5 separate regions of the Homo sapiens genome follow, and all the other regions are linked to region 2. The links are contacts of gene promoters, found by promoter capture Hi-C in blood cells and fetal thymus (Javierre and others, 2016). All regions are on one chromosome and are shown on one strand. The core of a region is centred on a gene start or on the middle of the fragment in contact, and the rest is flanking DNA. Distances in the headings are between cores, read along the strand shown.

Region 1 (2,700 bases), core at 192-2,691, 180 kb before region 2:
TAAAATTCTACATATGGAATTGATGGGTCAAAGAACATTCTCAGTGTAAATGTTAACACATTTCTAAATTGCACTCCACATGAGTTATACTAATATACACCTTACTATGCTAAGTATTTATTTTAATGAGTCATATGCTATATATTTAATAAAAAGTGAAGTAGTTCTACAGGAATTATGATAAAAACAAGCAGTTTCTGGTTTTCAGATTCTCATTCTCGATGGGCACTGCCCAGAAGCATTTTTGATTCTTTAGGCTATTTCTGCTCTAAGAAGGTCCATGCTTCTAACCATGCTGATAATGTGTTTTCATTATTTTTCAACTTTAGGTATTATTTACTCTCAGTTTCCTCAAACTTACCCTTCTGTCTTCTCAACTAGTTCTAAGATGTCTCTCTCTCTCTTTTTTTTTTTTTTAATTTTAGAGACAGGGTCTCACTCTGTCAACCAGGCAGGTCTTCCTGGGCTCAAGTGATCTTTCTGAAGCGCTGGGTAGTGTGAGCAACCGTGGCCAGCCTTCTTAACTAGTTCTGTTATGTAATTTGATTCGATTAAATGTCAGAATTTACATCTTTAAGACTATGTAAGTATTATGCCCTGTTAGCCTCAGAGTATACTATGATTTCATTTCCTTTCTTAGAGAATCATGTTTTCCCTGGAGTTAAAATTGTTTCTCTTTTTTTTTCTTTTTTCAAGATAAAGACCATTAATTTATTAGCAAATTGTATGCCAGAAGTATCAATCTTGTCTCACTGTGTTCAAATATCAGATATTCTATGCTTTGCATTTCTTTCTTGGTGACCTCTGCTCCAACCTGGACAGGCTGCTGTCCAGGCCTGCTGGTTGTTTCTTCAACACCATCCTAATGATAGCCTTTGCTGGTCTTCTGTATTGCTATTTCCAATGTATTCCTTCCTTTGGGAGATTACAAAATCGAGCAATAGTTTCTGAGTAAGAGTAACAGAAGGTATGCTTTCTGAGACTCTTCCTGTTTCAAAAATGTTCTCCCTTCGCACTTGGCTAATGATGTCAGTAGATATAAAAGTCTTGGTTGGAAGTAATTTTCTCTGAGTACTCAGGGAGCTATTTGTCTACCTGTGATTTATAGATTCCAATGCTGCTATTGAGATTCCAGTATCATTCTGATGACCCCCAGCCCATTCTGAAAGCTTTTAAAGTTTTCTCTTAGTTGACATAATTACAAAATTTTGTGATAGTAGGCTTTGGGTGGGTCTTTTTCATGCACTGAGCAAATGTACAAATTTGGGAAATGATCTGGATAGCAGTTCTCCAAGTGTGGTCTAACGACCTCTGGGGTTCCTGAGACAAGACCCCTTCAGGAGGTCCACAAGGTTGGACCTCATAAAAATACTGAGACATTATGAAATTCTTAAACTTTCATTCTCTCATGAGAGTACAGTGAACTTTTCCAGAGGCTACATGACGTGTGATATCACAACAGATGGAAAGTTGAAGCAGATATGAGAATTCAGCTGTCTTCTAGTAAGTCAGGCAGTAACAAGATCTGTAAAAATGTAAAACAGCTCCAAAACAAACAAAAAAATTTAGTAGAAAAAGTAGTAAAATTATTTTTCTAGAAATATGTGGGCTTGTTCTTTTTTAGTATTAAATAAATAGACATCTTAACAGGTTCTCGGTTTTCATTTCTAATGTGGCAAACAAAACATAATAAAACATAAACAAAAAAGCTTTTTCAGTCCTTAGTAATTTTTAAGCATGTAAGAGATCCTGGACCAAAACACTTGAGAATCTCTGCTCCTGGCTGGATGTGGTGGCTCATGCCTATAATCCCAGCACTCTGGGAGGCCAAGGTGGGCAGATGACCTGAGGTCAGGAGTTCGGGACCAGCACGGCCAACACAGTGAAACCCCATCTCTACCAAAAATTCAAAAATTAGCTGGGTGTGGTGGCACACACCTGCAGTCCCAGCTACTCAGGAGGCTGAGGCAGGAGAATCACTTGAGCCTGGGAGGCAGAGATTGCAGTGAGCCGAGATTGCACCATTGCACTCCAGCCTGGGTGACAAAAGTGAGACTCCGTTAAAAAAAAAAAAAAAAGAAGAATCTCTGCTCGTGAATTATGTCTTTGATATTTCCTCCCTTGCAGTTTTAAAGTTCCTATTACTCACATATTGGATCTCCTGGTCTAATACGCTAATTTTCCTTACTCTTCCTCTTCTACTCTCTATCTTCCTGTTTTCATTCCTCCATTTTTTGTGGGGGGAGACCTCCCCTTTATTTCCCTTTTTTTTTTTTTTTTTAGTTTTTTTTCCCCATTTCTTTTATTGATTTTTTTGTTTTGTTTCAACCATCAGATTTTCAATTTCAAAGTTTTTTTTTAAACATGTGTTTTGGATGTTTCTTGCTTATGCTTTTGTTCTTATTTCATGCGTGCAAAATCTTCCCTTATTTCCAAACTCGCCATGATGATGATCATAATGATTTTGTACTTTTCTTTCCTGTTCTTTGTTTTCTGCTGAGCTCCCTTTTTGATGATTTTAGCTTCTGTCATTCATGTTAGATGCTCTTCTCAAATTCTGAGTATCTTCATTTGTCCTTTCATATTTGAAAATGAGCCACAACGTCAATCATGAACTCTTCGCAGGGATGGAGTTTATTGTGTGGTGTTCCTCATTCCAAGGCAGTGGTTCTGAAACTTTTGGCATCAGGACCTGTTTAT
Region 2 (2,700 bases), core at 113-2,612:
TTTTTAGAAGTATGCTGTCTACAGAATCTGAGAATCCAGAAGATGCCGGTTTTAACACCTGGTTGTTATTGTACCGCATTACAGGACCTACCCAAGCCCGGAATTCTGTTAGATGACAAACTGGACCCTAGAGTTAACATTCTAGTCTTTCCCCCGGTCTAAATACAAAACACAATATAGTTCTGTATCCAATCTGTTCAAAACTCCTAAACCAACTCTCAGTCTGAGATGGTCCTCGCGGGGTGATACCTGCCCCAAACACCCACACTCGGTGATTTCGAAAATACGTGCAGTAGCCTCGGCCACCTGCGGGTGGTACAAAGGGCGCCTTGAGGACCAGAGCTGGATGAAACGCCGGCTTACAAACCCCGCTCCGCCAGCACATTCAAGTCAAGGATCCAGCTCATTGTTTCCGAGGAGCGGAATGAATTGACCAGCCGAGCGCCGTTCTCCCAGTTAGAGCGTTCCCAAGCTTCCGGCTTCGGAACGGGGCTCACCGCGAGGACACAAAAGGGGCGAGCTCGGGCATCACTGCGGTTCCCCGCCGCCCGCCGAGGCCAGAACGCTCGCAGAGTCGCGGCCGCCCAGGTGTTACCGTTTACCCCGTGACGGAAGAGCCACAGGCTCTTGACTCCCCACCCCCTGAAAAGCGCATCTGCAGAACGGGGGCGCCCCCAAGCCCTGAGCGCCGCAGCAGCTCGGCCGCCGCCCCCACCGCGCGTCCCCGGGTCCTCGGGCTCCCGGCTTCGCTGCTGGGGAGCTGACCCAGCTGACTGGCTGTGGGGTCCCGTTCTGGGGCTGTCCTGCTGAGTCGGGGGTGGGGAAGCGGTGGCTACAACTCCCGGGTGCTCGCAGAAACTCCTCTGCGCGCTGATGTTGCAGCCGCTGGGGCGAGGGGCGGGAGCACCGGGAACTTGGGGGCGCGGAACCCCAAGCGGGGCGGCGGCGGGCAGCATCCCCGACCCGACTCCGACCCCCGAGACGCGGCGCCCCCCAGCGCCCTCCGTCCCCACCGCGCGGTGCCCCCGGCGCCCTCTGTCCCCACCGCTCGGCGCCCCCCAAGGCCCTCCGTCCCCACTGCGGAGGGGCGCGCAGGGGGCCGGCGGGGCCCGGGTACCACGCTCCGCCCGGCCCCACCTGCGGATGTGGGGCTCCCGCCGGAGGTCCCCGGGTCCCCCCTCCCATCCCTGGAAAAGTCCCCAGGGCGTCCGGGCCCGACCGGCGCTTACCCGGGGAGGGACGGCTTCGCATGCCCGGGCGGCGCTCGCAGGTCGGGCGGGGAGGGTGCGGGCTGCGCTGCGCCGGCTCGGGCTGCCGGAGCGCCCTGCAGCCGCCGTCGGGCTCGGGCTCGGGCTCAGGCTCGGGCTCCGACTTCCTCTTCCTCGGGCTCGGCCCCACTGCTCGGCCGCGCCCCGGCCCGCCCCTCCCCGCGCCCAGACGCCAGCTTCGGCGGCCGGAGCAGTGGATCGCTCGTCCCGCCTCCCCTCTGCCCTGAGGGTGAAAAAGGTGGAGAGGAGGGGGGCGAAGAGAAAGAGAAATTAGGCACTTGGCCTTGTCTCTGGAGCCTTGCCAAAGAGAACAGTCAAATTACAGCTTCGGGGGGAATAAAGTTTTTTTTTTTTTTAATTCTGCTACTGTTTTCGCAGACACATCACTTTTTTTCATTTTCCTAGCTCTTCAGGTTTAGCTTTCCTTTGGACGTAATAATTTCCTATGTGAGTCCTTTAAAATAATACCCAAAATCATGGTTTTAGTGAACATTCTAGTTTTACATAGAAGCTTTGCCGGTAATCAAGTGAAAAGAGGGGGAAGCCCGGTGTTCTTCAGGCGTCATTACCCTAATCACCTCGGTTAAAGCACCAAACGACCTTTGCCTAGAGAAAGTAAAAGTGGAAACGGAGGTAAAGAATAACCGGTGACAGCCAGAGAGATGTTTAAAGGCACCGGCTCTGCAGTAAAGTTATGACTCCAATCAAAGGTGCCTGCAGCGACAGTTAAAGGCATGTGAAGTCATTTCTTAACACTAATCTCCCGCCAAAGTCGGACGTATCAGGGTCGCCTGTGGACCCCCTTAGGTTTGGTGGTGGATTTGATTGCACTCTTAGTTGTTAACAGACCTTCAGCCTTACCACTTGCTAGCTGTGTGGCCTTGAGAGAACGCTTTAACCTCTCTGTGTTCTGTCTGTTTCCTCATCTGTAAAATGGAGATGATGATGATGATGATGATGATAGTGCCTACCTCATAGAGTTGCTGTATGTGATTTAAATAAGAGAATGTGCGTGAAGGGCTTAGGAGACTGTCTGGCACATGCTCTACAGCCTGAATAAATGTTAGCTATTCTTGTTGATTTTTGCCTTTTATCTGCTTTTATGCATATACATGATTATGGAAATTATCATAAAGACTGGGAACAAAACAAGGTTTGTGCAGTAAGGCTACACAGCATCACAGTTCTCTACCACGTGGAGTTTATGTTCTGTTTTATAATTTGAGTCTCCACAACTGACTTGTATTACCTAAAACTATGGGACTGGGTTATGCTTGGAATACATTTACCACGGTAGATTTGCAATGGGACTAAAACAGACATTTGCCATCTTCAAAGCATTGTTTCAGTTGGCCTTGCGATAACCTTGTGAGGTTGACAGGACAGGTGCTAGTCGCCTTTCACAGACAGGAAACTGAGCTTAATTAAGACC
Region 3 (2,700 bases), core at 79-2,578, 130 kb before region 2:
TCCAGAATAGAAAACTGTTTTTCACACAGTTACAAAACTCTTGGCACTACATTGATGATCAGGACTAGAGAAAAATGGACACAACAGAGAGACACATTATTTTCTTATCATCATTTCTTTTCTCTACTTACTTTCACTTTATATTAGATACCCAATATTGGGACAGAAGGATTAAAGAGGAATAAAAACTGCTTTTAGAGGATCCTAGGTTGGGCTGCTAGAAATGACAATGTCTTTAGAAATACTTTCAAAGGTGGGAAAGAGTGGAATATAAAACTCAGATCAATAGGGACCCCTTCATGGATAGATCTTAAATAGCAACATGGAGGGGGCACCGCTGCGGGGAAAGCTTCAAATGTTCCAATGCCAGTCCACGTACAGGCCTGGCTGCCAACCAGGCATTTTCTAAAATAGACCATTTCAGAAGTTTGGTGTCCGTAGCATTTAGCCAAGCTTACCACCCCAAACTAAAGACCTTCCAAAATTACCAATGACAGAAGTGAAACATTTAAAGTCAGGTCATATAATGGCACGTAATATGAGACCACACTTGCTAATGGCTAACATTTTTTATGTTGATTCATTGCTTAGAAGATAATTATAGTTTCCTCACGTAGGAAAATGCACCTCATAAAAACTGTCTAGTCTTGTTCTCACTTTCCTCAAAATAATTTAAGATTTCCACCCTGTCTGGCCTATTCTAATGCAACTCACCAATTATTAACATTTATCTCTAGAGCTGTGTTGCTCCACACAGTAACCAGTGGCCACATGTGGCTACTGAGAACTTGAAACGCAGCCAGGCTGGGCACAGTGGCTCATGCCTGTAATTCCAGCACTTTGGGAGGCTGAGGCAGGCGGATCACTTGAGCTCAGGAGTTCGAGACTAGCCTGGGCAACCTAGTAAAACCCCATCTCAAATACAAAAAATACAAAAAATTAGCCAGGTGTGACGGCCTGTGCCTGTAGTCCCAGCTACTTGGAGTCAAGGCTGTGGTAAGCCATGATTGTGCCACTGCACTGCAGCCTGGGTGGCAAAGTGAGACCTTGACCCTAAATAAATAAATAAACAAACAAACACAGTCAGTCTGAATTGAGATGTAAGATACACACCAGATTTCAGTAACTTAGTATAAAACTAAAAACATGAAATAAAATACCTCATTAATAATTTTTGTATTTGTGTATTGAAATAATATTTTGGATTAGGTTAAATATCTCACTGAGATTATTTTCACTGGTTTCATTTTACTTTTTTTTCTTTTTTGAGACAGAGTTTTGCTCTTGTTGCCCAGGCTGGAGTGCAATGGTGCAATCTCGGCTCACTGCAACCTCCACCTCCTGGGTTCAAGCAATTCTCCTGCCTCAGCCTCCTGAGTAGCTGGGATTACAGGCGCCCGCCACCATGCCTGGCTAATTTTTGTACTTTTAGTAGAGATGGGGTTTCACCATGTTGGCCAGGCTGGTCTCGAACTCCTGACCTCGTGATCTACCCGCCTTGGCCTCCCAAAGTGCTGGGATTACAGGTGTGAGCCACTGAGCCCGGCCTACTTTTTTTATTTTAAATTTATTCTTATTTTTATTTTTTGAAACAGGGTCTCACTCTGTCACCCAGGCTGGAGTGCAGTGGCACAATCATGGCTCACTCCTGGGTTCAAGCCATCCTCCCACCTCAGCCTCCCAAATAGCTGGGACCACGCCACCATACCAAGCTAATTTTATTTTTAATTTTTCTAGAGATGAAGTCTTTCTATGTTGCCCAGGCTGGTCTTGAACTCCTGGGCTCAAGTGATCCTCCCATCTTGGCCTCCCAAAGTGCTGAGATTATAGGTGTAAGCCACTGCCCCGGCATCATTTTACTTTTTTATACTGTTGCTACTAGAAAATAAAAAATTACATAAGTAGTTCATATATATTTTAGTCAGACAATGCTGATCTAGAAGTCTTTGATATAATTACATTATTCTTGAAGATTTAAATTTACCTCTTTATCAATCTTTGTTCAAATAATAGTGAATGCAGAGATACATACAACTCAAAGTTTGCATTTTTGTTTTTTACTCCACTTATTAATGCACAATATTGTTAAAAATTAGCAAAAATAGAGTTGGGAGGTCATCTCTGTGTAGCAGATACTGGGCTAACTGATTTTCCCTGACAAACTGAAACATCCAGATAAAAATCTGTAGGGCAAGAAAGCTTTTTCACTTGCCTTGAGTGAAAGATGTTAGCAGGTTGTATTAGCATTTGGGTAAGTTGCTGCTTTTCTTCTCATAACTTCTGTCTATTCCAAAATCCCAAGCACAGGGCCAACAATGTAAGAATTTCTGGGAATTTCTGGCCAAACCTTGCGAATGGCTTATATCAGGTATATCTTTTGACCCTAAAATAAGCTGGTTCCACCCACTTAGAGGATTGTGATCAATCTCACCTTTGGTAAACCTGGAGGTGGTGGGGGTGGAAGTATCCATAGAGGAACCTTAGAGACTTACTGAGTCGCACAATGAAAAGCACTGGTTAGCCTAAAAGCCAACCAAATAAAATATTCTTTTTTTTTTTGTGCCATCCTTAATAAAAGGAAAAGATGCCTAGACAGCTTCTATGTAGCTAGACTTTCATACTTTTTACTTCATGACAAATCCCTCTAATTTTTTCTGGGTGAAAACATTGGAATTCCATGGCTTTTCCTTCTTTGCTCTT
Region 4 (2,700 bases), core at 143-2,642, 160 kb before region 2:
AACAAGAAATTAAGAAATAGAATTAGTATTAATATGTTAAAGTTCTTAAAGCAACAGGACGCCCATCTTTTCCTACACTTCTGACAATCATTACCGAAATCAATTGTCTTAGGCCAGGTGTGGTGGCTCACCCCTGCATCCCAGCACTTTGGGAGGCCGAGACAGGTGGATCACCTGAGGTCAGGAGTTCGAGACCAGCCTGAAACCCCGTCTCTACAAAAATACAAAAATTAGCTGGGTGTGGTGGCACAGGCCTGTAATATCAGCTACTCGAGAGGCTGAGGCAGGACAATCGCTTGAACCTGGGAGGTGGAGGTTGTAGTGAGCCGAGATCGCACCACTGCACTCCAGCCTGGGTGGATCACAAGGTCAAGTAATCGAGACCATCCTGGCTGACACGGTGAAACCTCGTCTCTACTAAACATACAAAAATTTGCTGGGCATGGTGGCGCATCCCTGTAGTCCCAGCTACTTGGGAGGCCGAGGCAGGAGAATCGCTTGAACCCAGGAGGTGGAGGTTGCAGTGAGCCATGATTGTGCCACTGCACTCCAGCCTGGGCAATAGAGTGAGACTTTGTCTCAAAAAAAAAAAAAAAAAAAAAAAAGAAAAAAAGAAAGAAATCAATTGTTTTCATTTACTTCACAGTGATGTCATTTATTGACTTCATGTGGATGTGTATAAATGTACTGAAACCTAAAAAAGTTATAATAATGGAAAAGCAGTTTGGTATAAACATAACACTAAAATCAGTTCCTTATATTACCTTTCGGTATAACAATTAGAAAAGTCCTTATAAGAGGCCTTTTTACAATAATAACGTAGCAGAAAAACTTAATTTTGTTGCCTTGTTAAATATTTATTTTCGAAATTGCAGTTTCCAAATTACATTGACAACGTTCTCATATGCCAAAGTGCTTCTAAAACTGACAGAGGTAGACAGTTGGCCATGATGAAGTCCTGTTGCATACTGAAATATCTTTCCAGACCTATTTGCAACCTCCCATTACTGTTTTTTCTATAGTGTAAATCCTATCATTATTTCTAGCTACCAAAAAAAAAAAAAAAAAAGCAAAGCATTTCTGAAATAATCTATGTGCTGTTGAATGCATGTAAATACAAAGTCTTCGAAGACTATGTATTTTAAAGTCTTCAAAACGGGCCACCACCGTGTTTACCAGAATCCCCTGGAGTAAAGCTCAGTATGAGGCTGCTGTGGGCATTCACTAGATAGAAATTTGAAGCAAGTTTATTAACCACTCCTTTGAGAATGATCCCTCCAGTTGACTTCCTTTCCTACAACTTTGTCTTCCTTGTCATCAGGTTAACTTTACACGCTTTTTATTTCTTTTTTAAACTACCTTTTTACTCTCCAGGTCCCAGGCCAGGTAAGGAAGCAGACAGACACAATTAAATGTGGCTATAATCCTTAAAGTGGAAAATGGGAATGGCTGGTGAGGTGGTGGAGGAATGCAATGTCTTGGCAACACTTGACGCATCTGAAAATAAGAAACTGATTCATCTTCATTATAATCAGAGGACTACTGGTGTAATTTGAAACATGGTGATTAAGGAAAATTAAGTAAAGCCCAAAGGGTTTTTAATATGGGGAAAAAAATCAGTAAAATAAATGTACATTATTACATAATCTGAATTTTAACTCCTCACTGCTATTTATCATCATTATTGGTTTCTCTTTTTTCTTTATTTTTGTTTAGAGACTGGCTCTGTCATCCAGGTGAGAATGCAGTGGCTTGATCACAGCTCACTGCAACCTGGAAATCCTGCCTTAAGCAATCTCCCGCCTCAGCCTTCCCAGTAGCTGGGGTTATAGGCTCACACCACCACACTGGGCTAACTTTTCTATTTTTTTGTAAAGATAGGGTCTCACTATGTTGCCCAGGAGACTCCTGACCTCAAGTGATCCTCCCACCTCAGCCTCCCAAAGTGCTGGGCTTATAGGCATAAGCTACCACACCCGGCAATCATCATTGTTGTTATTTTAAAGTTTATTGCTAAGCACTGAGCTGTCTGCTTTATATGCATTCTCTCATTTCATCTTCACCGCAACCCTAGGAGACGGGTCCCACTCATCCCATTTTCCCGGAAGCTGAGAAAGGCTCCATCACTCCCCTGAGGTCACACAGAGAGTAAATGCCTCAAGCCATGCTCAAACCAGGATCTGCTGACAATAGCCTGGGCACTGAAACCCTACAGGGTCACTTCAAAGGTTTTATACCTTAACACAGTATATTTAAACAGGAGGAGGGGTTTGCTGATGATTAATTTTGAGAGTTAAAGGTAATTTTTATCAGGTGTCAGGTAGGAGCCAACCAAAAACAGCCACCCTGATTGACTAGGCACCTCCCACCTGCCAAGATCATCACAGGCTATATCTGAATTAGGATCAGTCCCATTCACATGCGGTACCCACTGCCTTCATGTTTTCATATGTATACATCCCATGGCATGTTTTCCTTCAGCCAAGCACACCAGCTTTCAACCATCTGCCACGTTCAAGACTGGCTCATGAGTTCTCGTCCTTCCTTCTCACTAATGCATGCCTTTACACTCCTTTAAGACATCCCATTTCTTGCCAGCCACCACACGGTGGGCCACTTGATCCCTCTTTATGGACAAGTCTCTATATACCTCGTCCCACAGAAACACACTCCTTCCCCAAACCAGTCACAGGGAGTCAG
Region 5 (2,759 bases), core at 138-2,637, 170 kb after region 2:
TGAAAACTCAGCCAAAAGTAAGTAAAGGCATAAATACATAAATAGTGCCAAAAAGGAGCTGAGAGCCTCAAATCATAGAAGACTATTAGTCGGGGTTGCGGGGGATTGCCCTCAGAAATCATCCAGCCGAGCCCCCATATTCTGCAGGAGAGAAACCAAGGGCCAGGGCAGGAAGCCCTGAGCTCAGCCCTCCTTTGCCCCATGATCTGTCTTCCGCAGAAGGCAGCATCTGGCAGAGAAAAATGAGAAACCTGCCCAGAGAGATCTTGTGTAAAACCCCCTGATTGTCATCTTTCCTTCTTTAATTTTTTTTTCAGTTGTGAAAGATACATATTCTGAAGAACGTATATGGCAGGTATGAGTAGTTCCCCCCTCCTGCTTCTGGTTCTACATTTTTACTGGGAAAATAAAATCCTCAGCTGGGTGCGGTGGCTCACACCTGTAATTCCAGCACTTTGGAAAGCCGAGGCAGGCGGATCACCTGAGGTCAGGAATTTGAGACCAGTCCGGCCTACATGGCGAAACCCCCATCACTAATAAAAGTACAAAAAATTAGCCGGGCGTGATGGCATGTGCCTGTAATCCCAGGCACTCGGGAGGCTGAGGCAGGAGAATCGCTTGAACCTGGGGGGTGGAGGTTGCAGTGAGCTGAAATCACGCCACTTCACTCCAGCCTGGGAAAAACAGCGAGACATCGTTAAAAAAAAAATTCCTCCAGGCTGCAAAGAATGAGGCTTTTGAATTTCTAGGCTAGGAAGTGCGTGCTGGTGAAATGAGACCCTTCATGACATCATGCAAATATTAATGCCGACCCACCCGGCTGGCCTGTGTAGAACCACCACCTCCCAGCTTGGGCTGGCTTCTGGCCACTCACAGCACTGCTGGCAGTTCCTTTGCAGGTGGGGATGAGGCCCAGGGCTAGCTTGGCCCACCCAAGCCCAATGCCCCCTTGCAGCCAGCTCAGCAACTAACTGGCAGGGGCCTTCTTGTCATTGCTGTCGCTGCAGCATCTTCCTGCAAGAAATTCCACAAGGTTACATCCTGCAGGCATGTCTGCTAACTCTACACAGCCTAATCCAAACATTTAAAGGTGCCATGTGCATGTAAACTGATCATTCAATTCATTGGGGAAAAAAAAATTTTAAACCCTAGATCCTGACTGTCAGTCCGCATAGTAGAAGCCCTTTTATCCAAACATTATTGACTAAGGGATCATTATTGATTAGCTGGTCATCTAATTAGAAAATAATTCAAATGAGCGGATGGTATAATCCTAATGGCATGACAGAAGTGACCCTTTCATTGATTCTTAACAAGCTCCATGGTTCTTATTGGCAAAATGGAGTAGTTATCCAAATGGGTGGGGTGCCCACACAGCTTCCTTTTCTTCCCTGGGGTTGGCACAGATGCCAACCTTCTTGCCCAGTGCTCTTGAGTCCCAGAGCAGTTCGAGGCTCCTGTCTCTCAAACCCACTTGCTCCTTCTCTGTGGCTAAACTTTCCCTTAGAATCCACCTATGACCCAGCCTCGATGGATCAACTCCCCCCTTTCACTCCTAGGCCCATTTCCACTCCTAGGCCCAGCAGCCAGGCCAAAGCCCAGACCTGAGTTCACTGGCCTGGGGTGGGGCAGACAATTCACTCCTCACGTGCTAGACTTAGGGAAGCACTATTTTGCCCCCAGATAATCAGCCTGGCCTCCCAGGCTCAAGGTTGGCCCATGGCCTGGTCCTGCTGCTCCCCTAGATGCCCTCCAGGGGTGGAGATGCAAGGGATGAGACCTGTGATCGGAGCAGTAGAATAGGTCTTTTTGGCAAGCAGAGCTCTAACAACTAGAGGAACTGTGTCTGGGCATCAGAACCCACCAGAACCACACGCGCCAGCTCACCGCGGGCAACTTCTGCAGCTTCTACCACACTGAGATGGGCAACACGGCCTAAGGCCTTCCTGTACTTCCTCCCCACTGGTGGGCTTATATCAGCCACATTCATGGCCAAGTTGGCGAGGATGAGCTGGGAGGGAAGTGTTGCCTCTGGTGGGGAGTCCAATCCTGAGCGGGGGACACACTGTCCTCCTGGCTGCACTGTCATCAATCTGGATCATTCTCGTTTCTTCCTCTGCCATGTGACAGTGTGCTAGATGGGGGTGGAGCACCTGCTGTCACATCTGTCTTTGAGCATGACCATCTGAATTACTTTGGCCAATGGGATGTTAGCAGGCACAACATGACCAGAGGCTTGACTTACACGTGCTTGTGGGGATTGACTTGTCCTCTTGCACATTGCAGGGTCTGCTCTTTCTCTTCATCTTAGGCTACCTCTCTGTTGCAATAGCCTGGCCTAGGAGTCGAGGTAGGTGTGGGAATGTTTGCCCACTTAGGGCCTCAGCTTATTTTCTAGTTGGCTGCCGCTGGACCCTCCCTCTCCAGCTTCTACCCCCTCTAAGAGTAGAGCTCCTTGGAGTTGTTTCTCTTTGTGGAGTGACTCCTCTGTAGCTTCCTTCCCCATTTCCAGGGCTGCTGCTTCCTTTTTAAGTCTGATCCCACATCCATGTTGACTTTCAGAATGTGAAAGGTTTGCCTTATCTACTGAACTTTTGTCTTGTAGCTAAAATCACACTGTTTGCCCCTCCTACTCGCCTGTCAAATAACTTCAGTGAGACAGTATTCCACAGAAGCACCTAAGCAGACCAAACTTTTGAGGGTCATAGCAGACAGTAGTGAATAGATTCCTACTAAGGGAGAAAGCAACAAAGGAAGTG

What was found. The method cuts DNA at HindIII sites, captures the fragments that hold promoters and counts their contacts. A CHiCAGO score of 5 or more calls a contact.
Region 1: a contact is called between a fragment that was not itself captured here and the fragment with the promoter of PLEKHG1 in region 2, in 2 of 17 cell types (total B cells and naive B cells). The highest score is 6.1, in total B cells.
Region 3: a fragment that was not itself captured here is called in contact with the fragment with the promoter of PLEKHG1 in region 2 in 3 of 17 cell types (naive B cells, total B cells and fetal thymus); the score reaches 14.2 in naive B cells.
Region 4: a fragment that was not itself captured here is called in contact with the fragment with the promoter of PLEKHG1 in region 2 in 3 of 17 cell types (total B cells, naive B cells and fetal thymus); the score reaches 14.4 in total B cells.
Region 5: a fragment that was not itself captured here is called in contact with the fragment with the promoter of PLEKHG1 in region 2 in 3 of 17 cell types (total B cells, endothelial precursors and naive B cells); the score reaches 11.5 in total B cells.

What each region holds. Positions count from the first base shown.
Region 1 is chr6:150,782,751-150,785,450 of GRCh38, reverse strand. All of the region lies in intron 4 of PLEKHG1 (pleckstrin homology and RhoGEF domain containing G1), which reads right to left. Among named protein-coding and RNA genes, the nearest start is that of MTHFD1L, 82 kb to the left of the region's middle. The HindIII fragment of the contact is 540 bases long and covers 1,172-1,711 here.
Region 2 is chr6:150,598,547-150,601,246 of GRCh38, reverse strand. PLEKHG1 (pleckstrin homology and RhoGEF domain containing G1) reads right to left here and starts at 1,362. Exons shown (of 17, transcript NM_001029884.3): 1 at 1,230-1,362. RefSeq lists silencers at 685-854, 1,065-1,544, 1,340-1,634, 1,815-1,874. The HindIII fragment of the contact is 1,307 bases long and covers 475-1,781 here.
Region 3 is chr6:150,727,464-150,730,163 of GRCh38, reverse strand. All of the region lies in intron 2 of PLEKHG1 (pleckstrin homology and RhoGEF domain containing G1), which reads right to left. Among named protein-coding and RNA genes, the nearest start is that of PLEKHG1, 130 kb to the right of the region's middle. The HindIII fragment of the contact is 1,746 bases long and covers 456-2,201 here.
Region 4 is chr6:150,759,005-150,761,704 of GRCh38, reverse strand. The region is part of intron 3 of PLEKHG1 (pleckstrin homology and RhoGEF domain containing G1); the gene reads right to left. Among named protein-coding and RNA genes, the nearest start is that of MTHFD1L, 110 kb to the left of the region's middle. The HindIII fragment of the contact is 5,411 bases long and covers 1-2,700 here.
Region 5 is chr6:150,429,066-150,431,824 of GRCh38, reverse strand. No RefSeq gene overlaps it. Among named protein-coding and RNA genes, the nearest start is that of IYD, 61 kb to the right of the region's middle. The HindIII fragment of the contact is 3,201 bases long and covers 1-2,759 here.